Regions from separate parts of the Homo sapiens genome. Here region 2 is linked to region 1. The links are contacts of gene promoters, found by promoter capture Hi-C in blood cells and fetal thymus (Javierre and others, 2016). All regions are on one chromosome and are shown on one strand. Each heading gives the region's core, a stretch centred on a gene start or on the middle of the fragment in contact. The rest is flanking DNA. Distances are from core to core; before and after follow the strand shown.

The links. Contacts are between HindIII fragments. The CHiCAGO score rates a contact against its expected background, and 5 or more counts as called.
Region 2: a contact is called between a fragment that was not itself captured here and the fragment with the promoter of MRGPRG-AS1 in region 1, in 3 of 17 cell types (M2 macrophages, M1 macrophages and erythroblasts). The highest score is 7.6, in M2 macrophages.

The regions. Positions count from the first base shown.
Region 1 is chr11:3,216,514-3,221,019 of GRCh38, reverse strand. MRGPRG-AS1 (MRGPRG antisense RNA 1) reads right to left here and starts at 2,688. Exons shown (of 2, transcript NR_027138.1): 1 at 2,461-2,688. It overlaps MRGPRG (MAS related GPR family member G), which reads left to right and starts at 2,207. Exons shown (of 1, transcript NM_001164377.1): 1 at 2,207-3,076. The coding sequence starts at 2,207. The coding sequence ends at 3,076. RefSeq lists an enhancer at 149-1,111. The HindIII fragment of the contact is 7,931 bases long and covers 1-4,506 here.
Region 2 is chr11:2,996,864-3,001,303 of GRCh38, reverse strand. CARS1 (cysteinyl-tRNA synthetase 1) reads left to right here. Exons shown (of 23, transcript NM_001014437.3): 23 at 56-375. The coding sequence ends at 190. Among named protein-coding and RNA genes, the nearest start is that of NAP1L4, 6.8 kb to the right of the region's middle. The HindIII fragment of the contact is 5,453 bases long and covers 183-4,440 here.

The DNA.
Region 1 (4,506 bases), core at 1,439-3,938:
AACAGTGCCACACCCTGTCACTTCTAGGGAACTGGCCGGGTGCCCTCCGTCCAGCCAGCTGGGTCCCAGAGGACATGAAAGGATTTAGGGACCGGGAGGAGCCTCCAGGCAATGAGCGCTGGTCTGAGCACAGAAGGGCCTGAGAGAGCTGGGGGCAGCCTCGTCACAGGTGAGAAGGCTCCGCCTGCCCCCACTGCACCCCCCAGGTGAGGCACTGGCACCCTCCCCTGCCCTCCGCAGTGGCCCCTGCTCTCAGCCTGGCTCCCCGGTGGATGGGGCTGGCTGGGATGTTTGGATTTCCTTTGGGAAGGGAAGGCAGGGCGGGATGCGGGTGGGAATTCCGGCTAAGTTGAAATGTGTGGACACCAGAGCTCAAGGGCGTCGCTGGAGCGGGCCGAGCAGGTGAACCTGTTCTGATAACAATGAAGATGCCCCCTCCTGCCGCCGGGCCACTCCTCTCTGTAACTCTCTCTCCAGGAATAGAGCCTAACCTCACCCCAGCATGGGGGGCCTGAGCGCCGGCCTCACCCCCAGCCTCAGACTCTGAGCCAGAGCCAGAGCACAGCCAGGAGAGTCTGGTTTCCTCCTTGAGGAAATTGAGGCTCAGAGAGGGGAGGTGTGTTTCCACCCCACCACCCCACCCCCAGTCACCACACTCACCACCACAAGCCAGGGCCCGGCCGAGGTCTCCCACTGCCCCTGGTTGGGCTCGGAGGACAGGCCACCATCACCGTGTGCCCGGCCATGGCAAGGCACAGGAGCCAAGGCCCGAGCCGCACTCCCCAACCCCTGACTAGGGGCAATGACAAGCACAAAGAAGGTGCCGGGGGATGCTCAGCCATGAGGCAGGGGGCTCACGGGGGTCGGAGGAAGCTGCAGGGGGTTGCAGGCCCCTGAGAAGGAGCAAAACCTTGAAGTAGGGTGGGACCTGGGTCAGGGGAGAGGTATTCAGGGCTGTCTGGGCAGGGGACACAGCCCAGGCAAAGATGTGACAGGGAGGGCTCCAGGTGTGTGTTGGCGGCTTGATGGCTCTCTCTCTGTCTGTCTCTCTCTCTCTCACACACACACAGTCTGTCTCATCTCTGTTTCTCTGTGTCTATCTCTGTCTCTATCTCTCTGTAGCTCTCTGTCTCTGTCTCTCTGTCTCTGTCTCTCAATGTCTGTCTACATCTCTGTCTCTCCCTGTCTCTCTGTCTCTCTCTATCTCTCTTCTCTCTCCCGTGTCTCTCACCGCTGACGCCGCCACTGCTGAGCCTGGTCCTGATGCATCTCCCAGGACTAAGAACATGACCCATGTGGATCCTGGGGGAGGAGGGATGGCTGGAAAGGGAAGGGCTGCTCTGAGACCCTCTGCCTTTCAGCGCAGCTTCCGGTGGCCAATCTCTCTCGCACTCTGAGAACATCCTCGGGACTCTCAGCCTCGCTCCTTGCAAGTGGCCACTTGTATCTGCCCCTCCCCTTGTGTTAGTGGCTCCTGGAGAGGCCCCCTGGCCCTGCCACCATCACCAAAGCCCCTCTCTTGGCTTGAGGCTTCAGAGCAGCCTCCTGAGTGCACCGCCGGCAGCATGAGCCCCGGGATTCAGCTTCTGCTTAGGCCAGGAGTGCACAGGGAAGGCTGGGGGCTCCCTCCAGCTCCTCACACCGCATCTTCCCTCCTCCCTCCTCCTCAGACCACCTGCAGCCTCTGCCTTTGGGCACCTCCCTGGACACCTCCAGAGACCCTCCGGGGAGGGGACTTCGCCAGCAGGCTGGTCTAGGCTCACCAGGTGGGAGCCCCATGAGGGTCCACCGTGGAGAAGCTCCCACCTCTGGGGGAAGAGGAAGGCGCCACACGTGGGTTCCCCATGCACGTTCCCTCTGTCTGCAGACCCTTGTCTGGCACACGGTGGAGGGTGCAGCATCACCCTCACCACATCCATGAGGGACATGGACATCTTTTCAGCAAGTTAGTCCACCCTGCCAGGAGCCCAGGGCCTGCCCTCAGGTATGGGGAGGCATTAGGCACGCCTGACCTGAGGTGCAGAGGGCTGAGACCCGGCTGAGGTCCCGCCGCTGGGAAGGGTGGTCCAGGGGCTGCACCCAGAGGGCACCTGCAGGGCCATGGATGCCACTCCCTGTGCCCCCAGCGGGGGCACAAAAGACTCCTGAGGACCATGTCTGTCTCCATCTTGCAGGTCCCTCGCCAGCACCCTCTGAGCCGGCCAGGATGTTTGGGCTGTTCGGCCTCTGGAGAACCTTCGACAGTGTGGTCTTCTACCTGACGCTGATCGTGGGCCTCGGGGGACCGGTAGGTAACGGGCTGGTGCTCTGGAACCTCGGCTTCCGCATCAAGAAGGGCCCCTTCTCCATCTACCTGCTGCACCTGGCCGCCGCCGACTTCCTGTTCCTCTCCTGCCGTGTGGGCTTCTCCGTGGCTCAGGCTGCCCTGGGCGCCCAGGACACACTCTACTTCGTGCTCACCTTCCTGTGGTTCGCGGTGGGGCTCTGGCTGCTGGCGGCCTTCAGCGTGGAGCGCTGCCTCTCCGACCTCTTCCCCGCCTGCTACCAGGGCTGCCGGCCCAGACACGCCTCGGCCGTCCTCTGCGCCCTGGTGTGGACCCCGACCCTGCCGGCCGTGCCGCTGCCCGCCAACGCCTGCGGCCTGCTGCGCAACAGCGCGTGCCCCCTGGTCTGCCCGCGCTACCACGTGGCCAGCGTCACCTGGTTCCTGGTGCTGGCCCGCGTCGCCTGGACGGCTGGCGTGGTCCTCTTTGTCTGGGTGACCTGCTGCTCCACTCGCCCGCGGCCCAGGCTCTACGGCATCGTCCTGGGCGCGCTGCTCCTGCTCTTCTTCTGTGGCCTGCCCTCGGTCTTCTACTGGAGCCTGCAGCCCCTGCTGAACTTCCTGCTGCCCGTGTTTTCCCCGCTGGCCACGCTGCTGGCCTGCGTCAACAGCAGCTCCAAGCCCCTCATCTACTCGGGGTTGGGCCGACAGCCCGGGAAGCGGGAGCCGCTGAGGTCGGTACTGCGGAGGGCCCTGGGGGAGGGCGCCGAGCTGGGTGCCAGGGGACAGTCCCTGCCCATGGGTCTCCTATAAGTGGGCTTGCCCCGCCCACAGGGCCTGCCAGGAGGTGCCCACCCCCACCGACCCTCGCTCACCCCACACCCAGATGCTTTCAGGACCAGGAGGAGCCCCGCCCACCACCTAGCTCTTACCCTGAGCACCCAAGGGCTGGACACAGCTGGAGAGACTTGGCCCTGACCACCCCCCAGCCAGGCCTGCTGAGGATGAGGGAGGCAGAAAATGGAGCTGGAGAGAGGTCAGGCAAGGAGAGAGAAAGGAGAAGCCTCCTGAATAGGGGTGAGGACAGGCACCACGCCCCCAGGCCCAGCCCAGATCCCCTTACCCGGCCCCTCCCCACCCTGCTGCACCTGAGTCACAGGGGAGAAAACTGCACAATAAAACAGAGCCAGCCACCAGCCCACAGTGGCCGGATTGGAACCCAGGCTTCCGGACTCCTGGGCTAGGTGGGCGCCGTCCATGCCACCTGCTGGCTGAGGCTCTGATTCGCCCCCTACAGAGTTGAGGTGGAACTACTCCTTACTCCCCGCCCTGCTCAGCCATCATTGTCCTGCCCACCCCGCGGGGACCACACCCAGGGCTCTGTCCCCCTCTCTGAGGCCCAGGACTGGCAGGTGCCTGATGTCACCAGCAGAGGCCACCAGGTGGTGCTGCTTCTGCACAGAACAGACCCAGCCCCGTGGGCCGGCGGATGCAGGAGCCTCCATCCCCTCGGTCCCCTCCCATCCCCTCCCACACTGGTCCCCACCCGGCCTCTCCTGCGTCCCCAGGGCCATCCGCTCTCTGCGGGTTGCTCCCGTCTCCCACCTCTGCTCTCACCCTCCCTCCTCAGCCCTGGATCATCTGGAGCTTTTGCCCCAAGTGTTTGCTTTGGAGAGAGAGAGAGAGAGACAGAGAGAGAGAGAGAGACAGAGAGAGAGAGAAAGAGAGAGAGAGAAAAGAAAAGAAGGAAAGAAGGAAGGAAGGAAAAAGAAAGAAAGAAAGAAAGAAAGAAAGAAAGAAAGAAAGAAAGAAAGAAAGGAAGGAAGAAAGGAAGGAAAAAGAAAGAAAGAAAGCAAGAAAGCAAGAAAGCAAGAAAGCAAGAAAGAAAGAAAGAGAAGAGAAGAGAAGAGAGAAGGGGAGGGGAGGGGAGGAGGGAGGGAGGAAGGAAGCGAGGAAGGAAGGAAGGAAGGAAGGGGATCCAAGTTTCCAAAGTGCAAACCATTTGATGTGTTTTCTGACCATGAAATAAAATACTTTCTGGTCATTTTTAAAACATTCAAGCCCTACGGAAAATACTAAAAAGAGAAATCGCCAAAATTTTTTTCCACCCAAATGGGGACATTTTTGATGAAAAGCACTCCAGTTATGTATTTTTTTAAATAAAGACCTGCAGAAATTTTCTTTTTTGCCCAAATGAAGGCATTCAATGGGTGCTCTTGGTGCCGGGTGGGACATTCTGCAGC
Region 2 (4,440 bases), core at 1,660-4,159, 220 kb after region 1:
TTGGGGTTACCCAGGTGCAGAGGAGACCAATAGCCGCTGTGCTCTGGGTTTTCAGGGTCTGCCCACACATGACATGGAGGGCAAAGAGCTCAGCAAAGGGCAAGCCAAGAAGCTGAAGAAGCTCTTCGAGGCTCAGGAGAAGCTCTACAAGGAATATCTGCAGATGGCCCAGAATGGAAGCTTCCAGTGAGGGGGCACAGGACTGACTTTTTAAACCATTGTGGACTAGTGGCTGCTGTCTGCCTCAGTGACAATGTCCCAGCGCTCCTATCATGTTTACAGTCACCCTTGGGTCCTAAATTAAGAGTTGTGTTCATGTAGGTTCGTGTCGTCGTTGGCTCTGAGACATTGATAATAAATTTTTCTCAACAGTGAGACCCTCTCTGTCTTGTTCTGCATGTTCAGCACTTGGCAGGAGGCCTGGTGGCCAGCCAGGGCCGCTTGGTCAGCAGGTCACAACTTAGGTGCTTGGGTCAGTTGAGCTGCTTCAGCTGGCCGAGGAATTTCTCCCCCATGCTGATGGCTATCGGCTAATCTCTGGTGTGTGGGCACATTGGGAGGTATTTGAGTAGGAAAAAGACAGGCTCAGACTGGCAGAGCCTGCTGAGCCCTAGACAAAGGCCGCTCAGTCTGCCCTCGGGTTCTGATGAATAAACACACTGCAGGTTTTCCTAGAGCCGTTCCATACTGGGCAGCAGCACAGCGAGTGGCTCAGCAGGCAGGCCCCTGGCGAGCTGCCCAGAACTGCCGCTGGAGACAGCAAGTCCAGGATCTGCATGGCTAATGAGTGAGTTGTGGGGGTGGTCTCAACACAGCAGGGGCCTTCTTGTCCCCAGTGCCCAGTGTTGTCCTTGCCACCCTGCCTCCACACCTGGTTCACCTGGACTAAGAATCACCACCCAGACGCGAAGGTGCTTACCCATCCTTGGCTGAGGAGGGCGTAAGCAGAAACCACAGCCTGCTTCATGCCTGCGGAAGCTGGTGCCAGGCCATATCCATCGGGACAAAAGACAGTCATTGGTGCTGTGGACATCCAGGGGGGGACACTCCATCCAGTGCATGTGGATGGTGGCAGCAGCCTCAGCATGGGGAGTGTGGCAGTGTTGGGTTGTGGGTGCGCCAATTCTTTGTCCTTGCCCTCCGCATGCGCATGCTGTTTACTGCAGTAGTGTGTGACACAGCAAAAGGCTGGAACCAGCCTGTCTGTGCATCAGCAGGGTGCTTGGCACAGCTTGAGAGCACCCACCCAATTATGCAGGGAGCACTAAGGTTATAAATCAATGAGGACAGTCTCTGGGTATTGATAGGCCTGACTTTGAACCTTGTCAGTATTTTATATATAAAAAAATTTAAACCAGCAAGAAAGAAAAGTCCCCCAAACAAAGTAAAACAAACATGTTCCAGTTATCTGTTGCCACTTAACAAATCACCCCAAAACTTCATGGCTGAAAACAACAATGATCATGTTAATAACTCATGGCTCTGGATTGACTGGGCTCAGTTGATTGGTTTTCAGTTGCAGGCAGATGGGGTCATCTCTAAGTTTGTGCCTGGGTCCCACACTAGGGCTGCTTGGGCACCTTTTACCTCTGTGAGACCTGTGTGTGATCTCTCCAGCTTGGCGGCTTCACGGTGGCTGATTTCTGTTGCAACAGCCTATAGCTCCAAAGGTGCGAGTCCTGAGAGAGAGAGAGACAGGAGCTATATGGCCTTTTAGGATCTAACCTCGGAGGTCATGTCCTGACTTCCACCGTCCTCCCTAGCGGAGGCCGTCACAAGGCCCACCCACGTTCGTGCGGAGGGGGAGGCATAGACACTACCCTGTGGTGGGCATTACTGGGTTCCAGAAGGGATGGGAAATACTACTGCAGCTATTTCAGAAAGTACCATCTGGCACAAAAACATAAATCAAATTGGCAACCTCAAGAAAAGAACTTCAACTTTCTGAGAATTGGCCATTTTTTGCTACACATCTTTAATGGGGTATCTTCTAAGGTCAAAGAAAGTACAGAAAAGTCAATTCAATAGTTTTGTTGTTAGTAATAACATTGGCATTATAATTTTCAAACCCTGTATGCCAACACAAATAAGATCACTGACACCCAGGCTGGAGTGCAGGGAAGCAATCTTAGCTCACTGCAACCTCCGCCTCCCGGGTTCAAGCTATTCTTCTGCCTCAGCCTCCCAAGTAGTTGGGATCACAGACACGCGCCACCATGCCCAGCTAATTTTTGTATTTTTAGTAGAGATGGGGTTTCACCATATTGGCCAGGCTGGTCTTGAACTCCTGACCTCAAGTGATCCGCCCGCCTCAGCCTCCCAAAGTGCTGGGATTACAGGTGTGAGCCACTGCGCCCAGCCTAGCAATCAAGTTTTTAATGTAAGACGATAAAATATCAAAGAAGTCAAGGAAAATCACTTTACTATTAAATACGAATTAGAAAAAACAATATGAAGTAACTTGTGATTTTAAAAAGTAGATTGTTTCCTGACTGTGTAGATGGGAAGGGTGGAGAAGCAAGGCAGCCCTGGTGGCACTGAGCAGCCCCAGCCCCGATCTGGGGCTCTAAACCCCATCCCACCCCCTGGAGAAATGGCCAGTTCCAGGTCTGCAGCAGCAGGAGTAGCTGAGCCCAGGCACTCTTGTGCCCCAAAAGGGGAGCTTTCGAACACCAAGAAGTCAGGTCAGGAGGACACTGGACAAGGTAGTGACACATAGCAGCTGGGTGGTATGTGTCAGGGGCATTCTGCTGGGTTTGGAAAAGCCACCCCTGAAAGGTTGCATGCCATGTGATTCCACGTAGATAACATTCTCAAGTAGGAATAGAGAACAGATGGTGGTAGCTGGGGTTAAAGATGGTGGGGGGGCGGGGGCAGGTGGAGGGGAGTGACTGCACAGGGACAGTAGGAGGTGGGGTTGGTGGGGAGGGCACTTCTGTGTTCTTGTTTCCATGGTGATCACACAAATCTGCATATGTGATAGCACAACGTAGAGTCACACACATTGTACCAATGTCAGTCTCCTGTGTTGATCTTGAACTCTGGCCAGGCAAGGTGTGACCATCAGGAAACAAACTGTGCAGTTTTCTGGAAACCTATAATTACTTTAAGGCTTCAGGAGCTCCTACTGGCTAAGTTTGGGACAATTTGAGCATTGAAAAGAATGATTCCAGCCAGGGCAACATAGCGAGACCCTGTCTCTACTAAAAGTCAAAAAAATTAGCCGGTGTAGTGGCGCACTTGTGATCCCAGCTACTCAGGAGGCTGAGGTTGGAGGATTGCCTGAGCATGGGAGGTGGAGGCTGCAAGTGAGCTGCGATCATACCACTGCACTCCAGTCTGGATGGCAGAGCAAGACTCTGTCTCAAAACAAAAAACAAAAACAAACAAACAAAAAAAAAACTCCAGGCATCTGTATTTATTCTCAAAACTAGAGAAAGCTAAAACATATTGTCGTTACTGGAGGTGGCCTGTGTCAGCTCCTTTCTGTAGAGTTACTCATTAGTGACAGAAGCAAGTATTTTACCTTGCATGGGAAGTATATTTCAGGGCCACCAAATGGCCCTAGCTGAAAGGGGAAAGTTGTTCTTTCCCCCAAAGATGCCAGCTAAGGGAAGAAGCACCAGGATCAGACATCTCCATTCTGCAACCCCGAATGAAGTCATTGATTCAGGCAGGGGCTGACCGCGGATGCTGAGACCCCTGGATGAAAGCTGGTAGGTGCTGGATAATTTGATGCCAAAGTGTCACCTTGTGAGTAACTTGTAGGTTTCCAGGAGGGGATACGTGTTACTTTCTGATGTTGGGCCCTGGCTGTCAGCCCCCCAACAAAAAGAAGGATTTCCTCTAAAAGTATAAGTCAGTATTGAATGCAGCTTTTAGGCTAGGGCTCCTTAACCTTGAATGTGCGTATAAACTGCCCAGGGTTGCTTGTTAACACAAATTTCAGTTCAGGTCTAGGAGGAGCCCAAGATTCTGCATTCCTGCAGTCTCCCAGCTGTGGCCTGTGCTGCCGGGCTACAGCCCCCTCAGGAGCAAGGCTGTCCAGCTCACTTCCTGTCTGCAGGAAATACTGGGAACAGAGGGAGAATGCAGGTGAGGCCATGAAGCAGCCACCACATTTGTGCAGAAGGTGGGGCATTCTGCCAGATGCCCGGCTGGCATCTTCAATACGTCTGCGTCAAAGGGAGCAGAATAGGGCAGAAGAGAAGGACTGGGAGAGACTCGAGAAACAAAACCACCAGGTTTGAGGGATAATCTTTGAAGGATTTGAACAAACCTGCTGTAAAGACATTTCAAAGGGGGTCGGGCACAGTGGCTCATGCCTGTAATCCCAGCACTTTGGGAGGCTGAGGCAGGCGGATCACCTGAGGTGGAGAGTTCAAGACTAGCTTGACCAACATGGAGAAACCCTGTCTCTACTAAAAATACAAAAAAATT